Regions from separate parts of the Homo sapiens genome. Here region 1 is linked to region 2. The links are contacts of gene promoters, found by promoter capture Hi-C in human tissues and cell types (Jung and others, 2019). All regions are on one chromosome and are shown on one strand. Each heading gives the region's core, a stretch centred on a gene start or on the middle of the fragment in contact. The rest is flanking DNA. Distances are from core to core; before and after follow the strand shown.

Region 1 (6,059 bases), core at 3,484-5,983, 170 kb after region 2:
GTCAGGGTGATGAGACGTTGATAAGTCTTCCATTCCAGGAATCAGGAATAGCCAGAAGCTTTCCCTCTAAGGAAAGTAAGGAGGCCAGGTATTTGAGCTGTACTTCCCTCCCCTTCCTGACATTAATACCTTCATTTCCTGAATTTCTTTGCCTCATTCACAGCCCATTTTTCTTCTCGATGGCTCTGCTCTCTACTGTATCTCCCCTCCCAAATCAACACAGGTCATATTTCTTCCCAGGAAGCCCAGTTACCATGATACCAACTTCCACTGGTTTCTGTGCCCTTTGCCTGCTGTCTGCAGATGGATCTGTGAGCACTGCTCCCTGTGTTCACTTTGTCCACTAATGCTGTTCCAATCCCCAAGCCTCTGCTATGTCTATCACACAAATTCATTCCTGTCCCATCCACTTAGCCATGGCCCCCCTCAACCAATCTTATTCTGTAACAGAAGAGGTAGGGGTATCCCAAGCTTCAAAAATGGTGCAAAGAGGAGAAGAAGAGATGATAGTTAATGCTGTAAGAACAGAAAACTGGAAGTGGGTCCTTCCCTCTAGGCCCTTGCATCTGGAATATCAAAGGGTGGCAGAGACAGACTAAGCTGCCGTGTCTTCTGCATAGAAAACAATTTATTCATGAGCTCACGGGTGATATGAGTGCCCCAGTCATTAGTGACCTCCCCCTAAGTTAGATGGCTTGGACATACCCCACCTAAATGCAACAGGAAGTGAAGTGAATCTCTCCCAAAGTTTTCCAGCTCATCCAAGGAGGAGAAAACAGAGCTGGAGAAGCTTGCCTGTTTAATGGGAAGCAGGAAGAGATGGCACGTTAGGAGCCCGAGGTATAGAAACAAGAGCAAGCGGTGAGCAGCCCTAGTGGAAAAGCATGGGGGTAGAGGTAGTTAACGTGGGGTGGGGGAGATAGGGGAGTGCTGAAGAATTTCTACAGAGGCCAGTGACGGTTGCATTTCATTTCTTTGTAAAGAGAGGCAAGATGGGGCCTACCCCAAAGCAGTAGGACAGACGAACTCTGGCTGAGGATTGAGGAAACAACTTTCCCAATCCCTCTCAGGGGTGCAGACAGACGTACAGAGACAGATAGCTCCATATATACACATTTACACAAATAAATAAGGAGCTGCGATCTACTTGGCTAGGTATCGCCTGTTCCCTCCACCCATCAGAAGCTGTTCCAGGGCATTTGCCACAGAACCTTCAGGCCTTAGGCATCTTAGAACCCACCCCCTCCCCAGGAGTCCACCTCAGTCCCAACAGCTCCTCAGCAATAGAACCCCAGCCCCTTTAACCTTGAAGCCCCTAGTCCTGAAGTTCTCTGGAACAGGCTCAGGGCCAAGTGCTCACATCTCAGGTTCTGGGAGGAGTCTGGGAAGAGCACACCCAGGGCTAGGTTAATTGCCAACTAGCCCCTCTCAAGGCAGAATCACAGTTGCAGCCCCTCTGGTCCACAGAACCCTGACAGTCTCAGAGCAGGCTCAGGTACAGATCCCTCGCCTTCCTAAGTTCTTGGGTGCCCATTCAGGGCCGGGCCCCCTGCTCCATTTGTTGGTGCTGGCTCCGCACAGCAAACCTGTTGACATGCACAGGTATGGGGACAACAATCTTGGGGTTTCTTACGGGCTCCCCAGAACGGCTGCTCACATTGCCAGCTTTGATGCGCTTCCACTTGGCCCGTCGATTCTGAAACCAGATCTTGACCTGCACCTCACTGAGCTTGAGGGCGTGGGCGATCTGAGAGCGCTCTGTCAAGCTCAGGTATTTCTTGCAATGAAATTCCTTCTCCAATTCCAAAAGCTGCTCGCTGGTAAATGCTGTGCGGCGCCGTCGGCTTTTCCCCCCAGGAGCTGTGACCCCTGCTGTCACCGGTGCCCCCTCCTCAGCTCCAGTCCCCAGGCTTCCCTTTAGCTTCGGTTTAGGTCCCAGAAGAGCCCCTGGGCCCCCTGCAGAACTGTCCAGGAAACCGTCATCCTCGCTGTCACCGCCTGAGCCCTCTTCCTCCTGTTCGCTGCCTGCTGGGTCTCCTGCTGATGCCTCCAGCTTCTCCTCATCTGAGCTGTACACCTTCCCCTCTGCTGTGAGGAGCAAGAAGCCAATGGATGGGGAGGGAGAAGCAAGAAAAAGAGAGTTTGGAGGAGGCCCATGGAACCATGGCCAGAAATGGGGGGTTGGGAGACAAGAGCAGGAAAAAAGAGAGCCATGGAGAGGAGAAGATGGGGAGGGACAGGAGGCAGAAGGATGGTATGTCCAGGATATGGAATGGGAAGAGGTTTAGGGAAAACAAAGAAATGGGAAGAAAGGTATTAACCAGCACAGATTTCACTACGGAAAAGTGTGGGAGGCAATAAGTGTGTGGACAATGACCCCTCAACTTCCCCACCACCCCCATCTCATTCGCACCCACCACCTCCCCAGCTTTCTCGGAACCTAGAGACCAAGGGCCCAGCATCGCAGTGATATACCACCCCTCCAGAGCCAGGCCTCGCAGCCTCAGGTGCCAGAATGAAGCAGTATGGGACCCGGCTTGGGATCCTTCTGGAGCCACTGGGGGGAGGAGTGAAGCAATGCAGAAGAACTGACCTTGGCAGGACAGACGGGGAGAGAAGGGCTCAGCCTTTGCACTTCTCCTAGGAGTCCTCATCTGGCCCAGCTGACGAGAGCTGTCTCATGGCCTCTGTTCTGTCTCCTCCTCTCCCTCTTCCCTAGATCTGCAGTCCCTGAACCTCATTTCCATGGCTCCCAGCCATGCAGCACCTTGAGTGTGGCCAGATTTTTTCTCCCAGTTACTTAGGCCTCCTGATCCCCTTTCAATCCTTACCCTTGACCTTAAAATGAAACCATCTCTTTCCCACCTTCCCCTTTCCCCAGCCAAGGATGCCTGAGCAGCACAAACAGCTGTTTTCTGCTCAAGTTCAGAATCCTGAGGCCCCTAAGCTTGATGTCAGCTGGGAGGACTGGAAGGAATATGGGAGGAGGAGGAGGAAGAGGGAAAAGTGCAACAGGGACAAATGAAGAGAAGGAAAGGGTAAAAAAGAAATTTTGATTCAGTAGAATACTGATTATTTGTAATCACAAGCATATAAACATTTTAATCCACACAATTCTAAAACTTAATTCAACCATTGGTTTTAATCTTTGTATCCAATGATGTTTATATCAGAACTGCAAATAATGCATTACACATGTTTTCAGTGAGTTTTACAAACTCCGTTTTCTACTCAAAGGACCAAAAAGCAGTGAAACAAGTCAAAAGACAATCAATAGGCAGGAGAACAAGAGAAAATGGATAATCTGTAAGCTGAATAGTCAGCTCCTTTCCAGAAGTGTCCACTGTGCAAAGGCAGGAGGCCTGCATACCTATATGTAGGAATGCATCTCCCTGTATCGGCCACATATCAGATATGCCTGAGATAAGCAGACTCAGAGGTTGAGAATACAACTCCAAGTAAACTAAATTCAGGGCACGGGGAAAGGCTTTATTAGAGAAAGAGGGTGTGTGTGTTCACAGATAGAACATCTCCTGGCAGTCAGAGCTTCCTGGTGTTCTCCTTCAGCACACCCCGCCCCACCCCCTGCCAAGTTCCCTTCCCCCTCACAGGTGCAGTCTACACCTGGTCTTTTTCCTCAACAGCCACATTGACATTTTCTTTTCCTATCTTTCCTATCTTTCTTTCTTTTGAGACAGAGTGAGACTCTCACTCTGTCAGCAAGGCTGGAGTATAGTGCACAGTCTTGGCCCACTGCAGCCTTGACCTTCCAGGCTCAAGGGATCCTCCACCCTCAGCCTCCCAAGTAGCTGTGACCACAGGCACACACCATGCCTGGTTAATTCTGTTTATTTTTTTGTAGAGACAGGATCTCACTATGTTGCCCAGGCTGGCCTTGAGCTTCTGGGTTCATACAATCCTCTAGCCCTGGCCTCCCAAAGTGCCAGGATTACAGGTGTGAGCCACTGCGCCCAGCTGACATTTTCCTTAGTGGCCAGAACTCTCAACCTTTTTCCACATCACCCATCTACATCCCAATCAACTTCATACCTCGAAGGTGTTTTCATCCCTCTCCTTTTCTTTCTGGAGTGCTTCCTGTTTCTTCTAACCTTCTCAAAGTCCATGCGGCATGCCCCAGTTTGGGCTCCCCCAGTCTTCCCATGCCACTCCTGTACATTGCTTTTCACCAGCCAATGGCTTTTGTTCTTCTTTACTAGTTTGCTCAGGCTTCACTGGCGCCCAGCATCAAGACCCATCTGGGTAAGTACTGTATCCTGTCTGTAGCTAATTCGCCCCTCATAATGTCTCCCATCAGCCTGTTCTTTCCCCTCTATCTCACCCCTAGCCAAATCTATGTTGTTTTCTCTAAGATTCACATCCTTGGTTTCCTCCTTCATTTCATTAAGGTCTCTTCTCCCATTATTTTCCACTTCCACAGAACTCAAACTTAACATGCCCCAAATTGAACTCCAATCAGATCATTCCCCCAAACCAGCTCTTTCTCATCTTTATCCACATCATCCCCATCTCAGTTAATGGCAACTGCATCCTCTGTGTGTTCAAACCTAACCTCGATGCCATCTTTTTACTCCTCTCTCTCACAACCCACATCCAGTCCATCTACAAGCCCTGCTAGTGCTGCTGCCTTTAAAATACCCCCAGAGCCCAATCCTTTCTCCCTATCTCCCGCTTCCAACTAGTCCACATCACAATTATCTCTGACCTGGTTCACTGTCATCTTCTAACTGGTTTCCCAGCTTCTGTCCTCCACACTCCACCTGGCCCATGATTCCTCTTTCTGTCTGGAATACACTACTCTTCACCTAGATCTTGCACTAGCTTATTCCCTACCTCTTTCAGGTCTTTATCAGTGACACCTCCCCTGGTCATCCTTTTAAAATTTAAACCCTCTGATACTCTCTATGTCCTTTCTCCGATTTATTTGTTACTTTGGTCCATTTTACCAATTTTATTCATTTATTTTACTGGCTGTCTCTTCCTAATAGACTATAGCTTCGTGAAAGTAGGTATTCTGAATATTTCTCATTCACTGCAATATCTTCAGTGTCTTGAAAATGACCTGACACTCAATACAGAGTAGACACTCAATAAGCATCTGTTGACTAAATAAAAGAAACGATTTCCAAATGCTCATGCATGTGCTCCCCGTCTTTCTTTCCCTCCCTGTCCTTTCCTTTCCTAAGCCTCTCCGACGATATTCCCCACAACCCCACCCCGCCCAGCTCCAGTGCATAAGACATCTCCCTATGAATGTTATCCTTCCCACTTTTCAGAATGCCCTCAGATCTCACATTAGCTGGAGAGGAATTCATATGCAGTAGGAATCTATAGGATCTTAAAAATCTATAGGATGCTTAAAGAAATTAAGGACAATCCTAATACCATTAGTAAATCCTCTATTTTAATTTTTTAAAACATAGTTTGTAGTAAATAATAACAAAAAGAATAACAAAGGCTTGTACAAACTCAGCCCAATATTACAATATGTTAAACAGTGCTAAAAAGGCAGAAACTAGACTTCGAGGCTTGAAGGATAAAATCAGTTAGTACAACTCCAAGCACCCAGGGGGTGTCCAATAAATCTAAATTGATGATGATTGAGATGAGGCTCCCAGGTTCCCGATCTGGCAGGGCCCTCCTGAGATCGTATCATCCATCCCTCTGTCTTCAGACAGATCCATAAAATGAAGCCCACATGAGCCGGCCACCCTCAGTGCTGCTTTTAAAGCCATACAAGGAGCACAGGTTCACAACCTCTCTTGGTTACTTGATCCCAGTGGGATGCTGAGCGGCAGGGGCAAGAGTTTCTCTCTGAGCCTTTATAATCATGACATTGAAGACTCTGATAAGCAACTCTTGAAATGAAATGGGGTGGGACAATAGAAGAAAGCAACGAGAGGAGAAAATACAGCCACATGCCTCAGAGGAGAGTCTGGGACAATGAGGAAGACCGACAAGGAGTGGGAGAGAGAAGGAAAGGCCAAGGCAGGTGGAAAGAAGACTGGGGAAGGAAAGAAGTGGGGTAGAGAAATAGCAGA
Region 2 (5,651 bases), core at 294-2,793:
TCCCCCTGGGCCCACCCCCACCTCTCAGGGAGGCCCTCAACCAGTGTCATTGTCTCCACCCCCTCAGGATCATCTTGTTCCTCCGCTTCACACAATACTGACCATCGGACTGACCCCTCCTTCCCCCAACCACCGTTACAAGCACGCGTTGTCCTGTGCTCACAGGGTCATGGACAAGGAATGTCATCCTCTCCCAACTCCCAGGGCCCTTGGCAGTCACACCCACTGTGGCTCATGCAGCCTTAGGGACAGGCACATGAATGCTGCCCACCCCCAGGACATTTGCCTAATCTGGGACCCTTCTAGAAGCCTCCCTACCAGGCAGGCATTAGGGGTGCTGTACTCCCGGTCCCCATAAGGGAATTAGGTGACAGTCTCCAGGGCAAGAAAACCCACAACTTGGGGGTACCACAGGGAGCTGCTTACCCTCAAAGCCCAGCTCTAGCCCCAGGACACCCTGTCTCCACAGAGCCCACAAGCTCGCAGCCTTGTCAAAGACACCTCCCCACCGCCCATACAGGGTCTAACTCACGGGTGACACATGGGCTCAGGGTTATATACACACGGCACACACAAGAAGAGATTATGAGCTGACCCTGCATCCACGGCTTTTCAGTCCCTCCGGCACAACACAGTCAAGATCTGGCAAGACCAGTGTGCGCGCTGGACTCTCGGGATCCCAGGGTTTGGGTCGTACACACTCTTATGCCCTTGCACACAGCCCCATCCACGTCCACGCACCCAGAGTTGGGGACACCTGCACACTCCATCCCACATCCCTTCCCTGCACACTCAGCGTGTCACACACACTCCGATCCCAAAAGCCTGAGCTGAGTTTCCCGCCCCAAGCCCCAACCCCAAACCCTTTGGCCCGGTGCCCACGGCCCCGGTGCACCAAGCCTTGCCCCCGCCGTCCCCTCGCCAAAGCCTGGGGCCCACCAGGCCCCATTGACTCGCACTTGCCGACGCACACGGCCCGGGCACGCCCCCCCATCCACACTCGGAAGAGCTCGGCCCGCCCCCAGAGCCCCCTCCCCGCTCAGCCCCCTCCCCCACTCACTCTGGCCCTCAAACTTGCGGATGATGGTGTCCAGGAAGGTGTTCTGCGGCGCGACGTGGCCCCTCCGCACCGGCATCCTGAGCCCATGGGCGGGCCGGGCGGGCCCCCACCCACCCCGGCCCGGCCCGGCCCAGCACTAGGCTTCGGGTGGCCCGGCCGGGCCGTGGTCCCCGCACCCCGCGGCCAAGCCGAGCACGGGCGCGGCCAAGACTGGACTGCGGGCGCCGGGTCCTCGCTCGGCTCCCGGCTCCCCGCTCCGGACCCCGGGCCCGGCCTGGAGCCGCCTGAGCGCGAGCCGCCCGCCGCCGGCACACCTGTCTGCCGGCCCCCGCCGAGCCGCGGGGCCCGCTCCGCCGCGTCCCCGCGCTGCGCTCCGCCCGCCCGAGCCCCGGACTCCTGGCTCCCGCCTGCCACCGCGCCGACAGCCGCTCCAGCGCCCGCGGCTCGGGCAGCGCCTGCGGCTCGGCCCGGCCGCGGAAGGGTTAATGCGGCGCGCGCCCCTCCGGCTCCGGCCCCCGCCTCCCGGCCCCCTCCCGCCTGCCGCGCGCCCGCAGCACCGCCCTCTCCCCCCCCCATCCCGCCCCACCGCGCGCGCCCGACCTTCCCATTGGCTGAGCCGCGCCGAGTGCTCCCCCAACGCCAGCCCCTCGCTCTGCCAAGGAGCCCCTGGGACTCGCGCGCCCAGAAGAGGGGGAAGGGACCCTTAGGCAGGGGAAACCGTGAGGACAGGTGCCATGGCCGGCTTGTAGGCGGCCGGGATGGGGGAAGGGATTCCACCCCCACCCCAGATTAGCGACTAAGAAACCTGATTTGAAGGGAAACGGCGGGTCCTTATGCCCTGGTTCCCCACCACGCCGAGCACTGGCTTGGTATACACAGCACGCGCTCAGTGCCTACTGTGGGTGACCGGGGCAACGCCTGGACCCTCGAAGACGAGCCCGGAGTCAAGGGAGACCCTGGAAATAGGAAAAGCAAGACAATCTGAAGGCCCCAGAGCAGCAGAGCTCTGAAATAAGGGAGGGTTAAACTTAGAAGGGGCACGCCCCCTGCCCCAACACACACACACACACACACACACACACACACACACACATACACACACACACACACACACACACACACACACACATACACACACACACACGGAGAGAGAGAGAGCCCTCTGTGGGGCTCTGCATAGGAGCTGCACAGAGAGGGACATTCTGACAGCAGTTGCGGCCTCCTAGCTGCAGGATCAAAGAGAGGTCCCTGAGCGCGAGGTTCCAACCAGGGGATCCCCGGGTGCGAGCGGCCCGCCCTCCCCCGGCAGCCCGGGGCCAGCCTTGCACGCCCAATCGGCGGGCTCGGGGCCCTGCGGCGGCGGCCACGGCCCAGCCCCTCGGAAAGCCCTGGCCTAGCCGCAGGCCCCTCCCCCCGGCCAGCTGGCTCGCTCCAGCTGCGGCTCCCTTATTTAGGCAAGGAGGCCTAGGGATGCTCAAGGGCAGGCGGGGTGTCTGCCCCGCCGCCTGCTCATCGCCTGCTTGCGTCTGAGTGAGGGTCTCCGGGCGCGGTGTCCTCGGACTTAGCAGTCAGGCAGGGCCCCGGGAAGGCCAGGGCGGGGAGGCGAGTGTTGACAGCTGAGTGGGCGGGCGGGGAGGGAGGAGTCGCAGCTGAACAGCCGAGGGTCCCCTCCCTGCAGCCGGATCAGAGACCTGTCTAGATGGATGGGGCCATGTGGGGGCTCCTGAGGGCTTGCAGCTGCCTCTGTCCTTGGAGCAGGGGCTGGGTCTTGTCACCAGCGAGAACCATCATGGGGGGAGGGGAAGAACAAAGGGCAGGGAAGGAATCGGAGTCCCGAAGGAGGAAGGCGCAGAAAACTGTCGTCGTGAGACCACCCTACCCGGACTCTCACCTTCCACCCAGGAGCACAAAGATGCAAACACTGGGGCCAAATGGGGCCACTGGCCAGCAGATGACACTCTTTTTTATTTGCTGGTGGGTGGGCAGTGACTCAGGGAGGCAGCCAGTGGGAGAGAAGGAGGTGGCTCCACAGCTGATGCTAAAAAAGTCCAGAGGCTCTTGCCTGTGCAGTTATTCCTCAGGCCCTCTCCACTGCCAGCAGTTTCCTCACTCACCCCCCCGGGGGCCCAGGGCCTTCCACAGCACAAGCTCCTCCTTGGTGTAGCATTTGGCATCAGGTGCATCAACACATCTGGGTTCCGGGTAGAACCTAGTCCACGACTGGCCCAGCCCCCGCCACGCCCCAAGGCCACCCCTGGCTGCTGGGTTGCCTACCATGAATCCAGGATGATTCATGTGTGAGTGAAGTGTCCTCCTGTCCAGGCCAGGGGATGGAGAGAAAGTGAGCAAAGGCCAGCAGCTGAGAATGGGCATGGGAGGGCAAGAAGGGAAAGGGACATCTGTAGCCTCCCCCTCTCTCCAGACCAAGGGAGAGGGAGAGCCAGGCCCTGAAGGGAAGGAGCCACTCATCTGAGCTGGCCAGCTGTCCTCCACTCCTGTACCCGTGTTGCTGGGACAGGCCTCTGCTCTTATCCCAAAGGGAAGACAGGAGTCAGAGGAGCCCTTCATCCTCCCAAACAGAGAGGAGCCCAGGCACGGGGTAGCCCTCCTTCTGTGCACAGAGGCAAGAAGAGAGCTGTTCCCTCAAGCTGAGGAGAGACAGATCTCTCCCTCTCTCCCCCCAGCCCACTCCACATACTCAGAAGTCAAAGCTGAATGTAGATTTCTGACTTCCTTGGAGGCTCAGGGTAGAGCCTGAAGGCAGACCCACTTAGCCGCCCCCACACTCAAGAATTGAGCTGAGGAAGAGAAACGGTGAGAGGGGGCAAGCTCTCCCCAAAGCAACATTTCTGGGCCTCAGATGAGCTGATGGAGAAGCCCCCACTGCCTTCAACTTCCCACCTCTGCTACCCCCAGATCTGGGACAAAGAGAAAAGTGCCCAACCCTAATACCAAGAGCTGGGCTGTTAAGCCTCTAGAATCTGCCCCACCCCCATCTCAGCTCCAAGAGCCATTTCAGAGACCATTCCTGGGAAGAGCTCTCCCGCACCCTGCCTGTGACTGAGGGAACAGAGAGGCTACAGTGAGATATCCAGGCTCCTCCCAGCTCCCAAAAAGAAACAATTTAGGGAGAAAAGTCTGCAGAAAGCATCCTACCCACCCTGCTCTCTGCTCCTGCTCAGTCCGAAGGCATGGAGCCAGGACATCCTGGAAGGAGAAAGAGAAATGGAAGCCCACTCTGCCAGAGGTCCCCCAAGGAGCGGGCCAGGCAAGACACCACCAAAGTCAGGCCCAGGAGAGCCTGGGGTTACCCACAGGGGATTGGGAAGCAGTTCCAGTCGGCTGGGCACAGGAGAGACAGGTTACAGAGCAATGGTTCCTGGGAAACCCTGGGGAAGGAAGAACAGAGTGAGCAGGTCCCTTGATGCTTGAACACGGTGGGTTTTTTTTGTTTTTCTGTGCAACTGGGTCCCCAGAATAGAGATTTTTTTCAGATGTGAACTGGAGTTGGAGAAGAAAAGAATCAAAGAAACAGCATGTTTCCCCTCCAGAAGTGGATGATCAGGGCTTATTGATAGAAAGAAGGGAAGTAGGAAGGAAAGAAAGAAGGAAGAAAGGATGGAAGGAACCCGCCTGAAACCCCTAGCCAAGAGCCAGGACACTCTTCACTCATCGCCCTCTGCAGCTCCACATGTAGCAATCCTGCCAACCCCTGGTCCATTCCAAGGTCTTCTCTGGACAACCTGATCCCCACCTTTGGTGGGACATTTTCCCTGCCTTTGTGGTGTCAAAAGAAGCAAGTAAGGCCCTGGAGACTAGGATTCGGGAGATCTGACTTCTAATTCTGGTTCTGCTACTAGTTGCATCGACAAGTGTTTACTGGGGGCTTTCTAAGTACTGGGCCCTGTGCCAGACACTGCTGGGGGACAAGAGGGATAAGCCAGGATCCCTCCTCCAGGGATTCACAGTCTAGTGAGTTTTGAGGGAGACGGTGGGCAGACAGAAACTGCAGTCTGCAGTCAGTGCTGTGGGATTACGAGGAGGTGTTGGTTAATTTCAACCGGAGGAGTCTTGGAGGGCCTTGCCAGGGAAGGAGATTTCAGTGCAGGTCCTTGAACGTTGGAGGTGGGGCAGGGCAGAAGCATTGCAGATAGAAGAGACAACATAAGGATATATAAAGAAAGGAGAATGGAGATTGGGTCTGAGGACAAAATAATTTGATGTGGTGGCAGTGGAGCAGCAGGCTGGCACCATTTGCAGAGGGATGAGGACTATGAATTTTATTATCTCTGCAAGGGGGACACAGTAGTGGCAGGAAACAGTAAGGAAACAGTAGTGGCAGCTGAATGCAGAATCCATGAATGTAAATATTCTGTCTTTGTACAGACCCTGGCAAAGAGTAGGTATCCAAGAAAGGTTTGTTGATTGAATGAAACGTGTATAATAGTTTGGAGAAAATGAGGTGGATATGAGGTTTTTCCATTACCTATTGCTGCATAACAGCCATCCCAAGATCCAGTGGTTTAGTTGGATATATTTTGCTCATGGATTTGCAACTGGGGTAGTTTCCACCAGGACCACTTTTCTCTGC

Evidence for each region. The method cuts DNA at HindIII sites, captures the fragments that hold promoters and counts their contacts. A contact is called where the count stands out against the background at its distance.
Region 1: a fragment that was not itself captured here is called in contact with the fragment with the promoter of KCNH2 in region 2 in 2 of the 25 tissues and cell types used here (H1 embryonic stem cells and spleen).

The regions. Positions count from the first base shown.
Region 1 is chr7:151,147,055-151,153,113 of GRCh38, forward strand. It overlaps GBX1 (gastrulation brain homeobox 1), which reads right to left. Exons shown (of 2, transcript NM_001098834.3): 2 at 955-2,088. The coding sequence ends at 1,535. Among named protein-coding and RNA genes, the nearest start is that of GBX1, 18 kb to the right of the region's middle. The HindIII fragment of the contact is 8,938 bases long and covers 265-6,059 here.
Region 2 is chr7:150,976,778-150,982,428 of GRCh38, forward strand. KCNH2 (potassium voltage-gated channel subfamily H member 2) reads right to left here and starts at 1,544. Exons shown (of 15, transcript NM_000238.4): 1 at 1,061-1,544. The coding sequence starts at 1,136. It overlaps LOC124901776 (a long non-coding RNA gene), which reads left to right. Exons shown (of 3, transcript XR_007060592.1): 3 at 68-578. RefSeq lists a silencer at 2,212-2,561. The HindIII fragment of the contact is 28,056 bases long and covers 1-5,651 here.